Regions from separate parts of the Homo sapiens genome. Here region 1 is linked to region 2. Evidence: promoter capture Hi-C in human tissues and cell types (Jung and others, 2019). All regions are on one chromosome and are shown on one strand. Each heading gives the region's core, a stretch centred on a gene start or on the middle of the fragment in contact. The rest is flanking DNA. Distances are from core to core; before and after follow the strand shown.

Region 1 (6,871 bases), core at 208-2,707, 590 kb before region 2:
CTCAGTCTCCCAAAATGCTGGGATTACAGGTGTGAGCCACTGCACCTGGCCATGCAAGGCATTTTATAGAAAGTGTTGGAGTGTGTGGGAAATAAAGTAAATGAAAAAAATTTGTACAAGAAAGTAAATGTAGTCATGACACTCCACTTGACTCAACAGTGATGAATATTTACATAATTATAAGAATGAAACTTCTGTGTTTGGCTTTAAATGAGACAGAAAGAGAAGGAGAGAAAGAATTATATTGGGAGGAATAGAAGAAGGGGAAGATGGTGAGTGAAATAATTTACCATATTGGAAAGTTAGTAAATAACTAAAATGTGATGAATTGAGAGATAGTGATACACACATACCATTTAGAGTTTTAAAAGTAATATTAAAGAAATGTTAAAACTGCAAGTAGGACAACAAGGTTGGCAGGCAAGTAGAACTTGGAGCTATTATTTTGTTATTGTGGTAAGCCTTTTAGCTCTGCATAAACCTAAAAAAATTTTGTAAACATAATACTCTGATTAAAAATCAGTATTAATTAAAAAATTAGCCAGGTGTGGTGGTGCATGCCTGTAGTCCCAGCTACTTGGGAGGCTGAAGCAGAAGAATCACTTGAACCTGGGAGGTGGAGGTTGCAGTGAGCCAAGATCATGCTAGCAGTGAGCTGAGATCACGCCACCGCACTCCAGCCTGGGTGACACAGCGAGACTGCATCTCGAACAAACAAACAAAAATTAGTACTAATTAAAACAATCTATTGAGGAAAAGTTCTGTGTATAATTTTTTGTTTTGCTTAGTTTCAAGTCAGTTCTACCTAAAATAGATGGTGGTAGAAATTTAACAATTATCCTTAGAATTTAGATATAAAGATACATTGGATAATTAAAAGTAAAAACTAAAAATACTAGGAAAGTCAATTCACAGTGGTTAAGAGCCACCATACACTTTTCATACCATTTAACAGGTGTATTAGTCTGTTCTTATACTGCTAATAAAGACATTCCCAAGACTGGGTAATTTATAAAGGAAAGAGGTTTAATGGACTCACAGTTCCATATGGCTGGGGAGGCTTCACAAATCATGGCAAATGGCAAAGGAGAAGTAAAGTCACATCTTACATGGTGGCAGGCAAGAGAGCTTGTGTAGGGGAACTCCCATTTATAAAACCATCAGATCTCATGAGACTTATTCACTATCATGAGAACAGCTTTGGAAAGACCTGCCGCCGTGATTCATTTGTCTCCCACCAGGCCCTTCCCATGACCTACAGGAATTATGGGAGCTACAATGCAAGATGAGATTTGGGTGGGGACACAACCAAACCATATCAACAAGATATACTAAATGATCAAAATTCCTATATAACAGATAGCATATTATGACTAGAGAGGATCCTAGAAGTCCTTATATATTTTATCTTTTTTTTTTAAGACATTTTCCAGCTTGTCATGGTGGCTCATATCTGTAATCCCAGCACTTTGGGAGGATGAGGTGGGACAACCACTTGAGCCCTGGGGTTCGAGACAAGCCTGAGTAACACAGTGAGACATCATCTCATAAAAAAAAAAAAAGACAGAAGAAACATCTTATTGCCTTGAAAAAAATGTGAATCATATTTTGTTTTATAGACAGAAATTGATTACATGAAGAATCAAGTGGTTTGTTAAAAATATTGCTGTTTTAAAAAAACTTATGTGATAGAAAGTTACTATTTCATCAGTTAGTTTTGTCAAAGTCAAATAAAAATGTAGAGACAAATCTATACACAAAAGGTTTAATTTGAGAAAATAGAGTTGCAATTTGTGGTATACAAACAGCCTGGTGTGGTTTTTAGTATATCTGAAGAACAAAGAGAAGGTTGAGTGTTTTATTAGAAAGATACATGTTACATATTGTTTTGTAAGGAGCTTACTGGCAGTAGTGAAGTTTCTGGGAGCTGGCAAGCTCTGGTGAATGATGGCAGTAGGAAAAACTAACCTTAGAGTCATGGCAGGTCATTTAGGTAGCTGCTAGGTAAAAATGGTCTTACATTGCACAGGCCATTTCAGCAGCTGAGCTTGCAGGAGAATTCTTGAAGCAGGTGCTATGTACCCTGAGTGCTTTTTCCCCTGGTTCCTCCATTCCGATTCACTTGGGTATGACAAAAATAACTCAATTCATACCACCAGTTTTCAGTTTATTCTATATTATAAAACATTAGGATTGATTTGTTAATATATGAGCTGCTCTTATAAAAGGATCGTATTTTAGTGATCTGATCATTAGGGCTTTCTTTTAATTTCAAGTTGTACTTACCTGGGCTCTTGGATCACGGTGAGTAGCATGCCAACACCAAGGACATAGCTCTTTGGAAAGACTTTAATTTAAAATATTTTCCTTCCTTTTTTGTAGGCTGGATCAGGAAGCTGTTTCTGGTCTAGAAATGAAGTGTTGTCATGTTCACATCCAGCCAGCTTGGGGTCTGAAGGGAAGTGTACAATCTGTGAGAAGACTGTGTGCTACTCTGCAAATTGCAGATAATTACTCTGAACAGAGAAGTCCTTTGAAGTTGCTGCATGAGGTCAGTAGAAAGTGTGTGAAGCACCCACATGAAATGAATCTTTTGTTCATTACTTCTGTGCTCACAGAGGGGTTGACTGCATTGGGTTATTCATCTTCTTTCCCTATGGAAACTGACTGTGGAGTTCTGTGCCAGGCCCAGCATGCATCTTCTTCCCAGGCTGCCAGATTTCACAGAATGTTAAATAAAATCTGCTTTTATTTGCCCATAACTGCTCTTCTGTGGGTTTACTCAGAAATAAGACCTGTTAAAAATGAATTACTTTTTAGAAAACTAGCACAGTTTAAAACCCTTATTGCACTTGGGGCAAACTGAACTTAGTATGCTGTTGTGCAGCAGGCGATTGTTGAAAAATGCTGAAAAATAAAGCAGAGAGCAAGGGCCAGAAGCTCCTCTCAACATGGAAAGGGTGTTGAGAGCAAAGTGGTCCTACAGTTTAGTTTTGCAGACACCCAAACTTGCCCTTCTCTGGAAGTTAAAATGTTCTTAGAGAAATAAATAAATAAAATTCCAAATATGTTACATTGATGGTCTGAAAGAGATGGGAAAAAAGTCTTGGGGAATATTTCATATGAAGGCAATATCTGATCTTCTAAGAAATATCTTCTGAAGAAACTGGTTAAAAAATTAAGACTCCTTTGAGGGATGTAGTCTTGGTTACCTTGCTGCCAGAGCGGCAGACTAAAGATCACTAGCTTGTAGTCAGTCATGTTTGTATGCACCCATTTTCCACTCAATGACAAAGGGATTCAAGCTTAGGTTCTGGGTATCAATTTGCAGATGTGTCTATCTGCTTTTCCTAATTCCTCTAGTTCATTCTGCCCTCTCCCCTTTCCTGTTTTTTTTTTTTTTTTCCTGCAGTTTATTTGCTCTACCTAACACTGACTTTAAACTAGAAAAAGCGTTTTATTGCTTTCAGATTCTTTCAGACATATTCTTCTTGCCTCTGTAATGAAATGAAGCACTTTTCTGATGGCAAGACACATGCCTTTTTTTGACTCAATACCCCAATATTAAATCATTAATGTAAATAATTTTTATATTCATTTTCTGTTACTGCTTAGTACACCTGGCACATGGTAGGGTGTCCCCACATAATTCATTATCCAAAGTGAGACACTTCTGGGAACAAAAAGGTATGCAGTTAGTAGTTATACTAAGACACCAGGTGCAAATTGAAATGTAAGTTCAGTTTATCAATAAACATTTGTGAAATATAATTTATTTCTTTGGTGATATCCTGCCCATTATAATTAACTTTTACCTTTCTAATCTCAGGAATCTTCTTATGGCTGCTTGAATAACTTCTTTCCTTTTTAGAGCCTTTTTGTTTTTTTTCCTGAGATTTTTACTGTTTGTCGAGACAGGCTGTCAGTCTGTAACCAGGTTGATGTACAGTGGTGTAATCATAGCTCACTGCAGCCTTGATCTCCCAGGTTCAAGGGATCCTCCCACCTCAGACTCCTGAGTAGCCGGGACTACTGGTGTGTGCCATCATGCTTGGCTATTTTTTTTAATTATTTTTTTTTTAGTAGGTACGAGGATTTGCTATGTTGCCCAGGCTCGTCTTGAACTCCTGAGCTCAAGTGATCCTTTTGCCTTGGTCTCCCAAAGTGTTGGGATTAGAGGAGTGAGCCACCATGCCTGACCAAGATTGTACTTCCTAAAACCACATTAGATGACTCATGACTTATCACAGGCCTGGAGGCCTAGGAGAGGAGAATGGCTTCATGAGCCAGGCTCAGGGCCCTGCTCCTCTGTGCAGCCTTGGGACATAGCTCCCTGCATCCTGGCCTCTCCAGCTTCAGCCATGGCTCCAAGAGGCCCAGATATAGCTTGTCTGCTGCTTCAGAGAATGCAAGTGATTAGCCTGGCTGGTTTCCTCATGGTATTAAGCTGGCTGATGCACAGAGTACAAGAGTTGAGGCTTGGGAGCCTCTGCCTAGATTTCAGAGGATGTATCTGAAATGTATGGGAAAGCCTGGATGTTTAGGCAGAAGACTGCTGCAGGGGTAGAGCCCTCATGGAGAACCTCTACTAGGGAAGTGCAGAGGGAAAATGTGAGGTTGGTGGCCCCACAGAGTTCTCACTGGGGCACTGCCTCTTGGAGCTGTGAGAAGAGGGCTGAAGGGGTGGCCTGCCCCTCCACACTTGTGGGAGTTTCTCGTCGGGTGGAATGAGAGACTTAAGAAAAGAAAGAGACACAGAGACAAAGTATAGAGAAAGAAAAATGGGCCCAGGGAACCGGTGCTCGGCATACGGAGGACCCACGCCGGCACCAGTCTCTGAGTTCCCTTAGTACTTATTGATCATTATCGGGCGTTTCTCGGAGAGGGGGATGTGGCAGGACAATAGGGTAATAGTGGAGAGAAGGTCAGCAGGAAAACATGTGAACAAATGTCTCTGTATCATAAACAAGGTAAAGAAAAAAGTGCTGTGCTTTTGATGTGCATATACATAAATATCTCAATGCCTTAAAGAGCAGTATTGCTGCCAGCATGTCCCACCTCCAGCCCTAAGGCAGTTTTCCCCTATCTCGGTAGATGGAATATACAATCGGGCTTTACACCGAGACATTCCATTGCCCAGGGATGAGCAGGAGACAGATGCCTTCCTCTTATCTCAACTGCAAAGAGGCCTTCCTTCCTCTTTTACTAATCCTCCTCAGCACAGACCCTTTACGGGTGTCGGGCTGGGGGATGGTCAGGTCTTTCCCTTCTCATGAAGCCATATTTCAGACTATCACATGGGGAGAAACCTTGGACAATACCTGGCTTTCCTAGGCAGAGGTCCTTGTGGCCTTCCGCAGTGTATTGTGTCTCTGGGTACTTGAGATTAGGGAGTGGTGATGACCCTTAACGAGCATGCTGCCTTCAAGCATTTGTTTAACAAAGCACATCCTGCACAGCCCTTAATCCATTTAACCCTGAGTTGGCACAGCACATGTTTCAGGGAGCACAGGGTTGGGGGTAGGGTTACAGATTAATACCATCTCAAGGCAGAAGAATTTTTCTTAGTACAGAACAAAATGGAGTCTCTTATGTCTACTTCTTTCTACACAGACAGAGTAACAGTCTGATCTCTCTTTCTTTTCCCCATAGAGGGCCACCATCCTCCAGACCCCAGAATGGTAGATCCACTGGCAGCTTGCACCATGTGCCTGCAAAAGCTGCAGGCACTCAAAGCTAGACCTTGAGAGCAGCTGCTGGGGCTGAATCCTGCAAAGCCACAGGGCTGGAGCTGCCAAGGCCTTGGGAGCCCACACACTGCGTCACTGTGTCCCAGATTGGAGTCAGAGGAGATTATTTTGGAGCTTTAATTTTTAATGACTGCAGGGCAGTCATTAAATTTTTTTTATATAATTTTTTTACATAAAAGTCCAGCTCCCCCTTTGCCTTCCACCATGATTGTATGTTTCCTGAGGCCTCCCCAGCCATTTGAACTGTGAGTCAATTAAACCTCCTCCTTTCTTTATAAAGTACCGAGTCTCAGGTGGTATCTTTATAGCAGTGTGAAAACAGACTAATACAGAAAATTGGTACCAGGAGTGGAGTACTTCTACACAGATAACCTGGAAATGTGGATGTGACTTTGGAACTGGGTATTGAGCAGAGGTTGGAAGAGTTTGGAGGGCTTAGAAGAAGATAGAAAGATGTGGGAAAGTTTGGAACTTACTAGAGACTTGTTGAATGATTTTGACCAAAATGCTGATAGCAATATGGACAATGAAGTACAGGCTGAGGTGATGTCAGATACATGTGAGGAACTTATTGGGAACTGGAGCAAAGGTCACTCTTGCTATGCTTTAGCAAAGAGAGTGGCAGCGTTTTGCCCCTGTCCTGGAGATCTGTGGAACTTTGAACTTGAGAAAGATGATTTAGGGTATCTGGCAGAAGAAATTTTCCGTTCTTTTCTTTTGTTTTCTTTTTGTGGAGACAGGGTCTTGTTCTGTCACCCAGCCTGGAGTGCAATGGTGCAATCTTGGCTCACTGCAACCTCCACCTCCCGGGTTCAAGCAATTCTTGTGCCTCAGCCTCTCCAGCAGTTGGGACTACAGGTGTGCGCCACCATGCCTGGCTAATTTTTTGTATTTTTAGTAGAGATGGGGTTTCACCATGTTGCCCATGCTGGTCTCGAACTCCTGAGCACAGGCAATCCACCCACCTTGGCCTCCCAAACTACTAGGATCATGGGTGTGAGCCATTGCGCTCAGCCTGGCAGAAGAAATTTCTAAGCGCAAAGCATTCAAGAAGTGACCTGGCTTATTCTGAAAGCATTCAATTATATGCATTCACAAAGAGATGGTATGAAATTGGAACT
Region 2 (6,911 bases), core at 2,568-5,067:
TAGAGGCGGGGTTTGGCCATGTTGGAATGCTGGTCTCGAACTGCTGACCTCAAATGATCCACTCACCTCGGCCTCCCAAAGTGCTGGGATTACAGGCGTGAGCCACTGCGCCCAGCCGATGGAACCATTTTCTTTAAAAAGTTCTCATTTCTCCTAGGCCGGGCACGGTGGCTCATGCCTGTAATCCCAGCACTTTGGGTGGCCGAGGTGGGCGGATCACCTCAGGTCAGGAGTTCGAGACCAGCCTGGCCAACATGGTGAAACCCCATCTCTACTAAAAATACAAAAATTAGCCAGGTGTGGTGGCGGGCGCCTGTAATCCTAGTGACTCCAAAGGCTGAGGCAGTAGAATCACTTGCACCTGGGAGGTGGAGGCTGCAGAGAGCTGAGATCTCACCACTGCACTCCAGCCTGGAGTTTTTTTTTTTGAGACAGAGTCTCAAAAAAAAAAAAAATTCTCCTTTTTGATATGATCACATGTTTAATTTATTTTGTTTAATGTTTTTATAATTGAATTAATAAAGTACCCAGTAAAATGCTATAAATCAATAAGTATTATCCAAATGAAAATAAATTGAAATTAAGTAAGACTAGTTTCAAATGCAGTCTTTCTTGAAAGAGTGAGTTTGGCCATCCTAAATTACAGTTTTCAAGATTGATCTACTTTCTTTCTGAGGCCACCATACTTTTGGTACTAGAATTAAAGTGTCTAAATCAAAAACACACTACATGGCTTCGCTTTGACTTAAAAACAAAATGCACAAACAATAAATTATAAGTCTGATTAACTGTATGGGTATTTTGTTCAATTGATTTAACTGCATTTTTTTTCCCTAGGATATAAATCATGTGATACAGCAAACTCAAAGATGTGGGACTCAAATGACACTTGTGAAAAACTGATACCCTGTTTGCCTTTAAAGTTATATTAATTACCACACTTTAGTAAAGTGTTTACTATTTAGAACTCTTTCTTCCTTCCTAGTTGGCCACCTGTACACTCCATTCCTCAGCCATAAAAGTAAATACTGTATATCTAAAACTGGTGCTGGTTTTGATAAGCCATAGTGATGACATCAGCCTGAGTTCCAACTCCTGGAATAAAGAACTGTGACCATACAGCGACTTGTGGGCAGTTAGGTCTCAGCATAACACTCCTTGTCCCCTCATGTCACTGATTTGGAGCCAAGGTTTGTGCTCCAATCTACCAAACCAGGTTAAAGAAATTACATTTCTATTTTCAAATGCAAGGGATTTAAAAGTATACATGGCGCACAAAAAACTCAACGTACTTAATGCCTAATGCCACTGAACTGTACACATAATAATGGTTAAAATACTGAATTGTATGTAATATATTTTACCATAATTAGGAAAGAAAAAAAACTGCGTTCACGTGTTTCAAAGGTTTTCCACAACTGTATAATACATATAGTTGGTTATACCTTTGTAACAGTGACCATATCGCTCTTTCTGCAACATCTATTAACCCAGACACCCCAGGGCCTAAGTAAGCATCCATTCTTCAGGAATTAGTAAACAGCACTTACACACGGACATTTCTAGCTAAAAGTAACACAGACAAAAAAACCTCAAAAATATCACGTAAGGGCAGGTGTTAGGCAAAGAGCCTCTGCAAACATCCCTTGCTCCTCTGCATTGCTCTGGTGTGAGGAGCTAGGACATGGAGAAACCTCTACCTCCTATCTCAGGATTAGCGAACCCTGCTTGAGTGCTACAAGGGTAAGTAAATGCTGGCCTGAAGAAGCTGCTGAGCTTCCGGATCCCACTGACTGTCGTTCGGGCACTTCCTAGAGGGTCAAGCACCATGGCGAAAGGCTGAGGAGGCAACTCGTATCTTTCATTCTCCTGCCTCATCAAGAATGAACCTTGAAGGCACCCATAGGTCGCGCAGTCTTTCAGAAGCTGCAGGAGGGCTGTGACTGTATGGGGTTGCAGACTGAAAATCTTATTAACGTGAAAGAGGAATTTGAAATTAAAAAAAAAAAACCCGGCCGGGCGCGGTGGCTCACGCTTGTAATCCCAGCACTTTGGGAGGCCGAGGCGGGTGGATCACGAGGTCAGGAGATCGAGACCACGGTGAAACCCCGTCTCTACTAAAAATAAAAAAAAAAAATTAGCCGGGCGTGGTGGCGGGCGCCTGTAGTCCCAGCTACTCGGAGAGGCTGAGGCAGGAGAATGGCGTGAACCCGGGAGGCGGAGCTTGCAGTGAGCCGAGGCTGCGCCACTGTACTCCAGCCTGGGTGACAGAGCGAGACTCCGTCTCAAAAAAAAAAAAAAAAAAAAACCCCACAATATCAGGCTACAGTTATCATAGCAATTCTGCTTTTAATGCACTCAGGACAAACTTCTAGCTCTGCATATATGTCATTTCAATGACACATCCTGTCTCCTACCCGACTAGAATGTGAGCAGCCCTGTGATCTCTATGTGCTCATAAACAGTGCCTAATGCGAATCCTGGCTCTTGGAAGGCGCTCAGCTAGTAAGTGAGGAGCTCAGCTCTGAAGCTGTAACCAAGACCGCGCGGGCAGGAGGAAAGGACACTTCAGCGCTCTGCGGTTGCAAACACACCCCTGCGGGTGCTGCCACTTAGCAAAGTCTTAGGTTCCCGCTTACTCGCACACGCATCCTGACTTCCCCCAACCCTGGAACTACCTACCAGGAGCGGAGACCAGCAGACCGACAGCACGCACATGATCCCCATAAGCTGAATGGCCGTCTCGGTCGTGATGCGGCCCCACTGGGCACTGGACTGAGATGCCGTGGCCTTGGCCCGGCAGCGGGACACCAGGGCCTTAATGGTGGCCAGGTTGCAGGAAAAGGTGACTGTCAGCGCCAAGAGCCCCAGGAAGGCAAAGGCAGAGGCGAAGAAAAGGTTGCCCCAGTTATGCGAAGAGCTAGTCCCGTTGCCCCCTCGCCCGGTGCTGATGAAGCACCACGTCCCGGGCCACTGGACGGTGTACTGGCCCACGCCCAGCACCGGCAGCAGGGCGAAGGCGAGCACGGCCAGCCACACGCCGAGCAGCACAGCGCGGGTGGCACGCGTCTTCATGTGGCTCGCATACCAGTGCGGCGCCCTGATGGCCAGCGCCCGCTCGACGGCCATGGCGCTGGCGATGAACAACGAGGAGAGCCCGAAAACAGTCATGGTCAGCCCGAAAAAGGTGCAGAGCCGCCCCGACGGGTCGATGTGCTCCCAACGCTGCTTGGACAGGTACACGACGATGACGACCGGGGTGGTGAGAAGCTGCCCGACCAGGTCGGTGAGCGCCAGCCAGCCGATGCACAGCAGGAAGGACTTCTTGCGCTTGCTCTCCCGGCGCCGGTAGCTGCGCGACACGAGCAGCATGGCCAGTGCGTTGCCCACGAAACCAGTGAGCAGCATGGTGATCGGGAAGGCCACGGACACCGATCCGCAATCCTCGCCAGACCCTGGAGGGCGCGTGAGGTTGCCCCGCGCCTCGGCGGAACGCTCGGGCGCCCACATGCCTGTGTAGGAGTGGTTGAGGCGGGTGCAGAAGGGGGCATCCCCTCCGTAGCCCCGGGTCTCCTTCATGTTGGCTTCGAGGTGAGGAGGGGATGGCGTCCAGAGAGCCGCAGCGGGAGGGGGCAGACGCGGCGCGGGCGGCGGCGGAGGTCGGCGTTTACCGCGGCTGGGGCTGGGCTGCCCCCCATGGTGCGGGGCGCAGCCGCCGCCCTACTCCGCTGCTGGGACCGCGGCCGCGGCGGCGCCAGGGCTCACTGGCCCGGGAGGGAGCCACGCCTTCCTCTCTGGGAAACCTCTGGTGGCGAGGCGCGCGGAGGTGCCGAGTCCCCTTTATAAGGCCGAGGGGGCGGGGCGCCCGTGGGTGTGGACAGAACCGAGGTGGGAGGAGGGTGCAAAGCAACTGAGCGCCTCTCTTGGCTGTTGCCTATCCTGATCGCCTGGGTTGGGAAGCCCCAGACGGTCTCCTCTGAAACGCCCTGCTCCTGGCCGGACCGGGAGCCCACTGGGGTCTCCTCCAGTTCTCCGCTAAAGTGTCGGTGGACGGCAAGCAGCTAATAAGTAGCACTGGACTTGCGGACCCCAGGCAAACTGCCGAGGCGCACCTGAGCGCTCGTCCTCCTGCTTCTTCAACCACAAACGCTCCTACAGGGACGGGATCCTTCTCCTGAAGTCCTTTAGTAACTCTGGTAAAGTGAAAATCGCCTGTCCTTAAGCAATCCACACAAGCCTTTGCATAGCTGATCGTTAACTTTTTTCCTTTCTGCTTTGTGACTCTAGAGTGATTATAAAAAGGCCAAGGTGTCCTGTCCCCTGGGGTGCCGCTGAAAACTATAAAATTACTAGACAGTGCCTGTAGACTTAAGGGAATAGACACAGGGAAACAAATACATCGGATGGTTGAATTCCAAGACCAAGAAATCCCAACTACTACCCCTCGCCTAATCCTGCCCGCTCCCCTCCCCACCACCCAACAAAAAGGTCAGCTATGGCAAAAGTGGCTACAGGAAGGTGGCATCAATTTGCATATCTGAGGTAGTGAAATCAACTGCTCCCAGCCTATGGGAGTGAGAGGGGAGCAGAAGAGAAAGGTATTCCTTACAAAGCCTCCAACCATCCTTCTTATCTTCATACAATAAGAACTAGAAAAGGTATTCAGATGTTATGAAGGCCTTAATCTATATGGAAACTTTGCCTTTGAAATAATAAACATTGAATGAAAATAGGCATACTTGCTTGCCTCGTAACATCTTTCAGTAAGCCAATATTTTATGTACTTCTCACAAGCATTTTCTCATTTTATCACAGAAATCCTCCAAGGTACTATTGCTATTATTATTTCCCTTAAAGGTGGGGTAACTGAGGCCCCATGAAGTTAAAGAATGTTCCTGAAGTCTCTCAGCAATTCTCAAGTCCCATCTTATTTGAAGCATGTATTCCTGACATGGGTCCCATAACTGCTCTCAGCAGATGAATATTAACGGTGAGATCATCTTCCCCTAATCTTGGGAAAGTCTTGTGTTTTTTGCTTTTTGCCTTTTTACACTGTCTAAGAGATGAAAAGATTTTTAAAAATAATTGCAAAGTTCATTTTTCCTCATATTTAAGAAATTAGACTTAATCATATAGCACTCTAAAGACCATTATTTTGATTGACACAGATCAACTTTCAGAACAAGCCCAATCAGTTTTGCCTTTCCTAGCTTAGCTGATGTTCTGTATGGGTGTTCTTAACTTTTAAATTACTGTTAAGAGGTAAGAATGGGATATGTCCCTCTGCATACTTTATGTGCTGTTGTCTTGATTCTGTATGAGAGTTTGAAAAAATATCACTATAACATTATATGTTTTTTAAAGAAGGAAAAGCAAGAATGCAACTTAAACTCCATTTTAATAAGATGCATTAATCACAACATGAATTTCATTTTGTGTTTTGCTGTCATTTAAAAATGTTTTGCACTTTTGCGTTTTACTGACTAAAATGTCACGTTTACAATGGGAACAACAGCTAGGAAGGGTGAAATGGTTTGATTCTAAAATCTTCCGTAAACTTTTGTCTTATTATTTTGAATTAATCTCAAACCTGTATTTGGGATAGTATTTTTCTAGCCTAATATCATTTGAAAATAAAATAATATTTGAGGTTATTCTTAGACAAAGCTTTATCCAAAGCATTTGGATGAAAGTGGCTATCAAGTTTATACCATCTATAGTTAGTAAAATTCTAGTGTAATTCAATATTTAAAATTTAAGACCATATCACCATTCACACAGCAAAGGAAGCAAGGCTTATCTTTTTCCAGTTACATCAAAAACTATTCTCATTTTTATTCACAAATATTTGACTTCTTTGAAACTTTTACTTCTCCCACTGAAGTGCTTGCTGTAGCCAATTGGACTTGATAAGCATGGTAAGCGTCGGGGCATGTATTAGTAAAGAATTGTTAGCCTCTCACTAACCTCTATGCCAATGAACAAAATGTGTTGCATTTCAGATAATTTGGGTATTTCTCTTCTTTCAGCACTTTGCTTCATCCTATATTGTCTGCCTTTAGCTATTCACCTTGTAAACAAGTGACTGTGAGGTTTTGTGGAGTAACAGTGTGAAGCTGGCAGTTGGATTCTGGTTGGTACTTTCTGGTCAGTTACTACGGATATAGTGTGAATTGTGTTGGTCTGAAACAACACCACCCTCTAGTGACCAAAAGGCTAATAACATGCTTTATGCTGTTTTAAAGAGAATTTCCATAGGGCCAATGGATGCTTTGCTTAGGGAATCTCTGATTTCTTTCCTAGAGATCTACTTATCAGTACATAATTGTGGTCACTTTGTTTTCCTTTGAGGTTACAAATTGGCAACTTTGTTTAACAGTCAATAAACCAGTAGAGGATTAAACTGAAAGACCAGATATTCATTTTTTTTTAATTTAAAGTATATATTCACCTATTATGTTTTCAATGAAATTCTAACCTGGACATGTTTTAAATTCACAGATTACTTAATTGTACCCTACAGCTTAAAATGTATAATGTATGTCAATATTTAGCTAGTGATGATGAATTTATTTTGCTATTTACTTCTATTAAACATCTATTTAAAAATCTTAAATATGGATACAAAATAAGATTAATAATGAGTCACATGATCAGCCTTTGATTGCCTCACTATGGATGGAAAATATCTGAAAGTCTTTCTTCATGGAGCCAACCAGTAATTTTAGTTTATATTTTAGTCATTCATTCATTCAATAACCATTCATTGAGCACCCAATCTATGTCAGACACTGTTTCAGTCATTAGGGATACAAAAGCAATACATAACAGTGCCTATATTCATGGGGTTTATATTTTAGTGCAAAATTACTGATTCTAAGTGCCAAATAACAGGAGAAACACTGATCCCA

Evidence for each region. Contacts are between HindIII fragments. The study calls those that stand out against the background at their distance.
Region 1: a fragment that was not itself captured here is called in contact with the fragment with the promoter of PTGER3 in region 2 in 1 of the 25 tissues and cell types used here (hippocampus).

What each region holds. Positions count from the first base shown.
Region 1 is chr1:70,455,749-70,462,619 of GRCh38, forward strand. LOC105378793 (a long non-coding RNA gene) reads left to right here. Exons shown (of 3, transcript XR_947499.2): 2 at 2,383-2,551; 3 at 5,653-5,848. Among named protein-coding and RNA genes, the nearest start is that of CTH, 48 kb to the left of the region's middle. RefSeq lists a silencer at 3,145-3,345 and an enhancer at 4,061-4,867. The HindIII fragment of the contact is 9,520 bases long and covers 1-6,217 here.
Region 2 is chr1:71,043,999-71,050,909 of GRCh38, forward strand. It overlaps PTGER3 (prostaglandin E receptor 3), which reads right to left and starts at 3,818. Exons shown (of 4, transcript NM_198719.2): 1 at 2,683-3,818. The coding sequence starts at 3,579. ZRANB2-AS1 (ZRANB2 antisense RNA 1) reads left to right here and starts at 2,508. Exons shown (of 3, transcript NR_038420.1): 1 at 2,508-3,591; 2 at 4,816-4,990. RefSeq lists an enhancer at 3,232-3,815. The HindIII fragment of the contact is 12,323 bases long and covers 1-6,568 here.